Linked DNA regions of Homo sapiens: all the other regions are linked to region 3. Evidence: promoter capture Hi-C in human tissues and cell types (Jung and others, 2019). All regions are on one chromosome and are shown on one strand. Each heading gives the region's core, a stretch centred on a gene start or on the middle of the fragment in contact. The rest is flanking DNA. Distances are from core to core; before and after follow the strand shown.

Evidence for each region. Contacts are between HindIII fragments. The study calls those that stand out against the background at their distance.
Region 1: a fragment that was not itself captured here is called in contact with the fragment with the promoter of DISP1 in region 3 in 2 of the 25 tissues and cell types used here (mesendoderm cells and thymus).
Region 2: a fragment that was not itself captured here is called in contact with the fragment with the promoter of DISP1 in region 3 in 2 of the 25 tissues and cell types used here (IMR-90 fibroblasts and mesendoderm cells).

The regions. Positions count from the first base shown.
Region 1 is chr1:222,698,227-222,700,926 of GRCh38, reverse strand. The region is part of intron 2 of AIDA (axin interactor, dorsalization associated); the gene reads left to right. Among named protein-coding and RNA genes, the nearest start is that of AIDA, 13 kb to the left of the region's middle. The HindIII fragment of the contact is 6,571 bases long and covers 1-2,700 here.
Region 2 is chr1:222,893,957-222,896,932 of GRCh38, reverse strand. The region is part of intron 1 of DISP1 (dispatched RND transporter family member 1); the gene reads right to left. Among named protein-coding and RNA genes, the nearest start is that of DISP1, 80 kb to the right of the region's middle. The HindIII fragment of the contact is 8,490 bases long and covers 1-2,976 here.
Region 3 is chr1:222,813,498-222,816,361 of GRCh38, reverse strand. DISP1 (dispatched RND transporter family member 1) reads right to left here and starts at 1,323. Exons shown (of 9, transcript NM_001377229.1): 1 at 1,284-1,323. RefSeq lists silencers at 1,363-1,462, 1,553-1,632 and an enhancer at 1,873-1,932. The HindIII fragment of the contact is 9,383 bases long and covers 1-2,864 here.

The DNA.
Region 1 (2,700 bases), core at 78-2,577, 120 kb after region 3:
GAGAAAAAATTAACTTTTTCTTAATTTTCTTCAACTTTCTAAGGCTGAAGCTGGTGTTTGATAAAGCTATTTAGTTTTAAATTTATAGCTATTCCTTAGCAGCCACATGGCCACTGTCTTTTTTCAGCTTATCTTTGGTTGCAAAGACCCGCAGATCTTTTTTTTTTTTTTTGAGACGGAGTCTTGCTCTGTCACCCAGGCCGGAGTGCAGTGGCGCTATCTCGGCTCACTGCAAGCTCCGCCTCCCGGGTTCACGCCATTCTCCTGCCTCAGCCTCCCGAGTAGCTGGGACTAAGGCGCCCGCCACCGCGCCCAGCTAATTTTTTGTATTTTTAGTAGAGACAGGGTTTCACGTGTTAGCCAGGATAGTCTCGATCTCCTGACCTCGTGATCCGCCCATCTGGGCCTCCCAGAGTGCTGGGATTACAGGCGTGAGCCACCGCGCCCGGCCCGACCCACAGATCTTGTACCCCAAAAGGACCAGGAGGCAGCATGACCTAGACGAGAGAGCTGAGATCTGGAGTCAGAAGACTGGGAGTCTTGCTCTTGCTCTGGCTGTGGCCTTAATTTTCTTATGTATGAAATGAGGGACTAGAAAACTCTAAATGATCTTCAGAGTATCCCTGAATCTTCTCATGTCCTCTACTTTGAAGTGTTCTGCCCTGCCTTCTTTACTGGAGGCCTGATTTCTGAGGCATTTATTATTTATGATACCTGCCTAGGAGGCATTTGTGGCTGCCAGTTGAGACTACAGAGAGAGCTTGTGCCTGCCTGCCTATTCTTTGGACTTGGATAAGGAACCCCAAATCACTGTATACTACATTGTGAATATAAGGCAATTTGTATGCCTTTAAAAGTTTAATTTTCTTAGCCGGACGCGGTGGCTCACGCCTGTAATCCTAGCACTTTGGGAGGCCGAGGTGGGCAGATCACGAGGTCAGGAGATCGAATTCACGGTGAAACCCCGTCTCTACTAAAAATACAAAAAATTAGCCAGCGTGGTGGCGGGCACCTGTAGTCCCAGCTACTCGGGAGGCTGAGGCAGGAGAATGGCATGAACCCGGGAGGCGGAGCTTGCAGTGAGCCGAGATCGCACCACTGCACTCCAGCCTGGGCGACAGAGCGAGACTTGTCTCAAAAAAAAAAAAAAAGTTTAATTTTCTTTAAAAATGCAAGCAAAACATTCACAGCGGGCCAAAAAAAGCCATACTGACATGTAGGCCTTATTTCAATGTCACATAGGGAATAAGTTATCAGAGGCTCTAAGTTAATAAATGATTAGAAAACAGATCTTCCAGGTGTATTCTGGGGAACATTGGTTCTGAAAAATTAATAGATGTTATTTGAACAGATAGAGTTTGTGACTTCTCGGGACCTTTAGTATGCACATGTGTACGTTTAATATTTTAAAGAGTTTGGGCATGTAGTATTTTAAAATTTATTTGCTTTTGGAAGTCTCCGTCTCCCTTCAAAGAACATTTCATTGAGTCCAGTGTTCTGAAACATATTATGGGAAATTTTGATATAAACTGTTGGATCTGCAAAATTAATTAAATGCCTAGCATGCAAGCCAAAGGAGAAAAAACTCAATTGTGTTTTCTTCAAAAGAGGAAAATGGAAAATGTTCTTTACATTATGCTAAGCAAAATTGTTGTTTATGTTTTTTATTTTTAATTGGAATTTTTATGCTTTTACTATTTTTAGTGTTTTTGTAGCAATGGCAAATCTTAGAATTATGCCAACCGTTCAATAGTTTGCACAACTTTGAAAGAAAATTAAAAAAACAAAACAAAACATACTTTGGCCAGACGGGGTGTCTCACACCTGTAATCGCAGCACTTTGGGAGGCCGAGTGAGGCAGATCATGAGGTCAGGAGATCGAGACTGTCCTGGCTAACACGGTGAAACCCCGTCTCTACTGAAAATACAAAAAATTAGCCAGGCGTGGTGGCGGGCACCTGTAGTCCCAGCTACTCGGGAGGCTGAGGCAGAACAATGGCATGAACCTGGGAGGCGGAGCTTGCAGTGAACCAAGATCCTGCCACTGTACTCCACCCTGGGCTACAGAGCTAGACTCTGTCTCAAAACAAACAAACACAAAACATATTTTTAAAGTGCTTTCTTTATGAAACTTGTTACTGTCTAGTGCACAGTGAGCCCTTAAAAATATTTGATGGGCCAGGCGTGGTGGCTCATGCCTGTAATCCCAGCACTTTGGGAGGCTGAGGCGGGCGGATCACCTGAGGTCTGGAATTCGAGACCAGCCTGCCCAACACGGAGAAACCCCGTCTCTACTAAAAATACAAAATTAGCTGGGCGTGGTCAGACATGCTTGTAATCCCAGCTACTTGGGAGGTTTAGGCAGGAGAATCGCTTGAATCTGGGAGGCAGAGGTTGCAGTGAGCCGAAATCACACCACTGCACCCGAGCCTGGGCAACAAGAGTGAAACTGCGTCTCAAAAAAAAAAAAAAAAAAAATTGATGAATAAATGCTATTCTGTTGTCTTAGGTTGTTGATATTTATTCACATATGATTGTTATTTAAGACGATTAATTCTGTTTTTTAGATAAATTCTCATTTTTGAGAGAGTAACTTATATTCATTTTCACGATATTTATTTTAAGTCTAACAAGCTCTAAAGCAGAACTACTGATCTCTAAACTTTATTAATTGGTGATAAATAGTATGAAAACTTCATT
Region 2 (2,976 bases), core at 248-2,747, 80 kb before region 3:
TTTCACACTTGTTTTTCATTCTCTCTGATACTTGAAATCCTTGGTCTTTTTCATTTTAGCCATTCTGGCAGTTATAAATGGTATCTCATTGTGGGTTTTAAATAATTTCCCTGATGACTAATGATGATGCTCATCTTTCCATGTGCTTATTGGCCATCTGTATATCTTCTTTGTGTGTCTTTTCAAATCTTTGCTCACCTCTTAAAAGTTGTTTGCCATGTAAGAGTTCTTTTAACATTCTAGATACAAGCCCTTTGTCACACATTGTATTACAAATATTTTCTCCTACTTTGTACCTTGCTTTTTCTTTTTACCTTTTTTTTTTTTTCTCTGAGATAGAGTCTCACTCTGTCACCCAGGCTGAAGTGCAATGGTGCGATCTCAGCTCACTGCAACCTCCACCTCCTGGGTTCAAGCAATTCTCCTGCCTCAGCCTCCGGAGTAGCTGGGATTACAGGCGCCCACCAGCACACCCAGCTAATTTTTGTATTTTTAGTACAGACGGGGCTTCAACATCTTGCTCATGCTGGTCTCAAACTCCTGACCTCAGGTGATCTACCTGCTTTGGCCTCCCAAAGTGCTGGGATTACAGGCATGAGCCACCGCGCCCAGCCTCTTTTTTTTTGAGACAGGATTGTGCTCTGTCACCCAGGCTGGAGTGCAGTGGCAGGATCATGGCTCACTGCAGCCTTGACTTCCCAGGCTCAAGAAATCCTCCCATTTCGGCCTACCGGTAGCTGGGACCACAGGCATGCATCACCATGCTCAGCTAATTTTTTTCATTTGTAGAGACGGTGTCTCCCTATGTTGCCCAGGTTGGTCTCGAATTCCTGGATGTAAAGCTATCCTCCCACCTGGACCTCCCAAACTGCTGGGATTACAGGCATGAGCCACTGCACCTTGTAGCCTCGCTTTTTCATTTTTTAAATGGTATCTTTTGAAGAGCAGAAATTTGTAATTACGATAAAGTCCAATTTATCAACACTTTAAAAAATCTTATGAATAGGCTTTTTAAAAAATCTTGAGAAATCTTTGTGCCTTTCCTAAGGTCACAAAGATTCTCTATGTTTTCTTCTAAAAGTTTCATAGCCTTAGGTTTACAGCATTTAGGTCTATAATCTACTTTTAGAAAATTTTTATATTTGCTGTGGGATAGAGATCAAGTTTTCCCTCTCCACCTGCAAGAGATCCAGTTAACCCATCATATGTGGAAAAGACTGATCCTTCTCCATTGAATTACCTTGGCACCTTTGCTGAAAAATCAGCCGGCCATGTATGTGTGAGTCTTTCAGGACTCTTTATTCTGTTCCATTGATCTGTTTATCAATCATGTTATTTTAAAGAGATAAAATGTACATTAATTATTCTGTTTGTTATAAACAGTCAGAACTGGGCAACTACTGATGTATTCCCAGCATTCCCTCACAAAGGAAAAGAAAATCACAGATTGCGAAAAATGATGAGATAAATGGCAGAAGTTTGTATTTCATCATTTTTTTAAAAAATCAGTTATTCTTAAAACAATAAATATAAGCCAAATTAACAGTAAAATGTGTTGAATTTATTTTCTAAGTTGACTGGTATTCGGTTAACTACTTGGAAAGAGTACAGTGGCAAAAAAGCACCAAGGTCTACAAAAGGTTCCTAATGAGCCTTTCAGAATTTCCCTGATAACTTCAGCTGAGCATTCAACTGGACAGTATCTCCTTAGGCTCATCCCTGGTCAGCTGTTCCAAACCATAACAACCTACCTCTGGTATCTCAGCCCTGCCCTTTGCCCATCACAATTAAGAAATGTGAGTGTACTCCTTTGGAAAGAAAACTGAGACTATTCTCTAGATTTTCAAATGCATCTGTATTTCTACCCATCCTGAAATCCTTCCCCCAAAATAAGGAAAGAAGAAAGGGTGTCCCTACTCAGATGCTTATTTTTCTACCTGTGGGTCCTTAATCCCAGCCTTTGGGTCAAATCAATCTCTTAGGTGGTGTTTCTAAATCTTTAGGAAATAAATTGGAATCTACAAGAATTCTCAATCTCGTAGGTTATTCTGTATTTTTCAAATATTTATTTATGTGTTTTAAAATAATAATGATGGCACCCGCAGCCCGTCTGGAGCAGCCGCTGCAGCGTCGCCGGCTGTAGCAGGGGAGGCACAGCCGGGTTCGTGGTGCCTGTTCCAGGGAGCCAGCGGGAGCGGGAACAGGTGGGAGCCCCACCCATTTCCGAATTGGCAAAGCAGGAGCCCCATGCTCCCAGGCGCAGCTACAGCCACCCAGCCATGGCTGCGGACCCAGGCATCTCTGCACTCTTGGGGGCCCGAGAAGCCCCCTGCCCCCACAGGCTTGGAAGTGACTGCTCCTGCTGCCTGGCCTCCCCCTGCTCCCTGCTCCCAGCACTCGCTCTGATTTGGGAGCAAAGTTGAAGCCGAGTCCAGGCGCTGTCGCAACCCGGGCGGGTGTGTGCACAGTTGAGGCAGTGCTAACACTCCAGCCCCCTGCTGCCTCAGTCCCCTCTGGACTTTGGGTGCCTACAAGTATGGGAGGGAGCCCGAGGGGGCACTGAGGGTGGCTCAGCATTGGCCTGCAGGTGCCTCTCTGCAGGAACAGCCTGGGCGCGATGGACTAAAGTGACTTACGGTGTCAGGAGGCAGACTGGCTCCTGGGTGGAAAGGGGTAGGTCCCTGGTGAAGCCCCACCTTCAAGCCAGGGACGGCCTGAAGCCTGGGGACCGGGCTGTCAGTTCTAGGTGAAGTCTGCACCGGGAGTGAGAACTTAGGGAGCTTTTTCTGGGCCCAACCATGGATCAACCAGTACACACTTCCTGCCTTATGAGACCCATAACCACCCACCCAGTCAGATTCACACAGACATGGGGACTACCGGCTGGGAGAAGGAACTACCCACTTCACGTCTCCTCAACTTGTAGGGATGACCTGCCTGCGGGAGGGAGCTACCCACTTCGGGTCTCCTGAGAAC
Region 3 (2,864 bases), core at 74-2,573:
CTTAAAAGCTAGGAGAATCTTTGTAATTACACTGAGTGAAACACTATATTATGTAGATTAGGAAGCACATATTAATCACATCCAATAAAACATAAATGCAAGGTAAATAATAACTAAATCAATAATTACCTTTGGTAATAATAATGAGCCCACATACCAAACACTGGCCACTGGGGAAAACTAAATGTGCTAATGTGCGTGTAACAACAGATCTTGGGTTATCAATATTTTTAAAAAACACTGACAATGGCAAATATTTATATATATATATATATATATATATATATATTTCCTTACAGCAGAAATAAAAAGGAACAGTAAAATCTTAAGAACTGCTAGTAATTTGCTGCACCCTGATGTAAAATTGCCTTTATTGGTTAAACTAAAAGACTAAACCCAACAAAATAGCTTTTAGAAAAAATGTGTTAGAAAGTTGGACAGAAAAACAATGAGTTGAAACTGCAAACATTGACAGCACTGGCTTTCCATGTGATTATCACCATAATTCTGAACGCATTTAGTTCATCCCATGACAAGGGAAATAAGACAAGCTAAACTCTGCAGGGTAGAGAAGAGTCCAAAAGGAAAACTTTGGTTGTCTTCCTTGGGTGAAGAGAACTCTCAACTACTATCAGTTTGACAAAGACACGCAGAATCTGGGTGAAGCAAGAATTCGAGCGGTCCCTAGGAATATACAATATTTTCCCGAAATCCACACGCGCGGAGCGGGATATATTTCTAAAAACAAAAAACAAACTGCATGAATTGCAAATGAAGCAATAGGAGTTCAGCATCCAATAGGTGGCTGGTCATCTTTCTGGTTCGTTAGGTCAAGACGTCCTTCTCACCTACGACCCTCAGAGAAGGACTGACTCCCTCCTCTGTAACCTCTCCCTGGAAGCCAACCTTTGCCATCTCCTGCCATCCTCTCAGTCAATCCGCCAGGACCCGGGACACGCCCCCACGAATGACTACTTTCCTCCGAGATGCAACTCTGCCCCGTGTCATCCGCAACCTCCAGTCTCAGGGCCTCTTTGGCCTCAGGGTCCCCGGTGCCTCCCTCCTCAGTCCCTAAAGGCTGCCCTTAGGGCTCTCCTGGTTCCCCGTTCTCAGTCCTGGCCCTTCTCTCAAGCCTGGGGTCCCGGATTTCCCTCCACACGCGCGGGAGATGCCGACTCTCCCGTCCCTACCCGGTCTCCCAGTCCCGCGGCGCCGGGCGGCGGCGCGCCGAAAGGCATCCACTGAGGAAACAAGTGCCTGCAACGTTCCGGCTGCGAACTCACCTCCAGTCCGGGCTCTCGGATGCTGGCCCGGAGCCGGGCTTCCGCCTGGCGCGGTCCGCGTCGCGAGCGGGACCGGAAGTCCCGCCCCTCGCCCGCTCCCGGCCCGCTCCCGGCCCGCTGGCCTCGCTTGACTACCGCTCCCCGGGAGAGGGATCGCCGGCGGCGGGCGACGGGCGGCTGGCAAGGGGCAGAGGGCAGAGGGGCTTGGCTTGAAAGGGCGAGGCAGGCGCCAAAAAAATTCCCTCTCGCGCTCCTGCTCTTTCTAGTGTATCCATCGACCAGTGTGCAAATGCTTGACCAAGCGTCTATTCTGCCCAAGCCCAGTGAGGCACAAGATGACTCAGACACTGACCTCTGTCCTCACAATCTAGTTAAAAGTTGACATAAGTAAAAACAGAAGTAAATCACGCCACAAGACAGTGTTTCTTCTTTCATTATTCAGATTATTATCACCTGCTATATAGGCCTGTGAACAACCAGGCACTGCTGTAGGGGCTGGGGATAGAGCGAACAGAGGACAGCCCCACTCTCGTGAGGCTTACACTCAGGGCGAGGAACTAGCTATAGAATAAATCGAACAGCGGCGGCTCCCTCGGGAGGCTTATGCACAGAAACAAAAATATATAAGCAATGAAACCATCAAGTGTTAGAGGCACTCTGGTGGTGCTGTAGGGAACGGTGCAATGTAGAGAGCTGGGCGGAGAAGGCTTTCTAGAAATAATGACTCTTCAATTGAGACTGAAATAAATGATGAATAAGAGTTAAAGGACAGGCACAGTGGAGAAGGGCATGCAGAGAAGAAGGACGTTATGGAGTGAGAGCTTGGCTTGTACCGGTAGCTGGCCAGGAGTTAAGCAAAGTGTCAGATGGCAGATGCAAGAGCAAGCATAATGAGAAGAGACAAGGCCAAATCATGAAGAACGTTGTGCCCTATGCTTAAAAATTTTGGACTTCAGAGACTCCGTGCAACGGAATCCGTGGGGTCATCTAAGGGAATAGACAAAACAGTGAGTCATGGGGTTGACTAGGGGGATTGTCCTAGTCATCAAAGAAAAATAATACATCATGAATAGCATGTTTTATCCTTGAGGGTGCTTTCTTGAACTGCCATACCCAGATGTAAAGGCAATAGACGGCTACCACAACCCTATAAAGGCAGGACCACAAGGGATCATACCCCTCAGGTTGCTGCATTGAGCAAATCACCCCAACCAACTGAGATGCTAACTGAAGTCACAGGGAACTATGGAATGGGCCCAGAAGAAAGAAGCTTCAACACCAGCTACAGTAATGAGGACTGTTGCATTTTTTGTTTGTTTTCTTTGCTACCAGTGTTTAATAAATACTCTCTTGCACACCAAGCCCTTTCTTTGCCTTTTTAAAAAGGAATGGTATAATACATACATTTTTCTTTTTTTCTCCTTTTGCCAGCAAAAGGCCATACATTGCAATATATGGAGATAGGATTACAGTAGAAGAAAATGAGGAATGGATATCGTGTAGAAAGTCTGTACTTAGAGGGCATAACATCAACTCTAAGTGAAGTAAAAGGTCACGCGTTTGGGTTTTCTCCCATTGGGA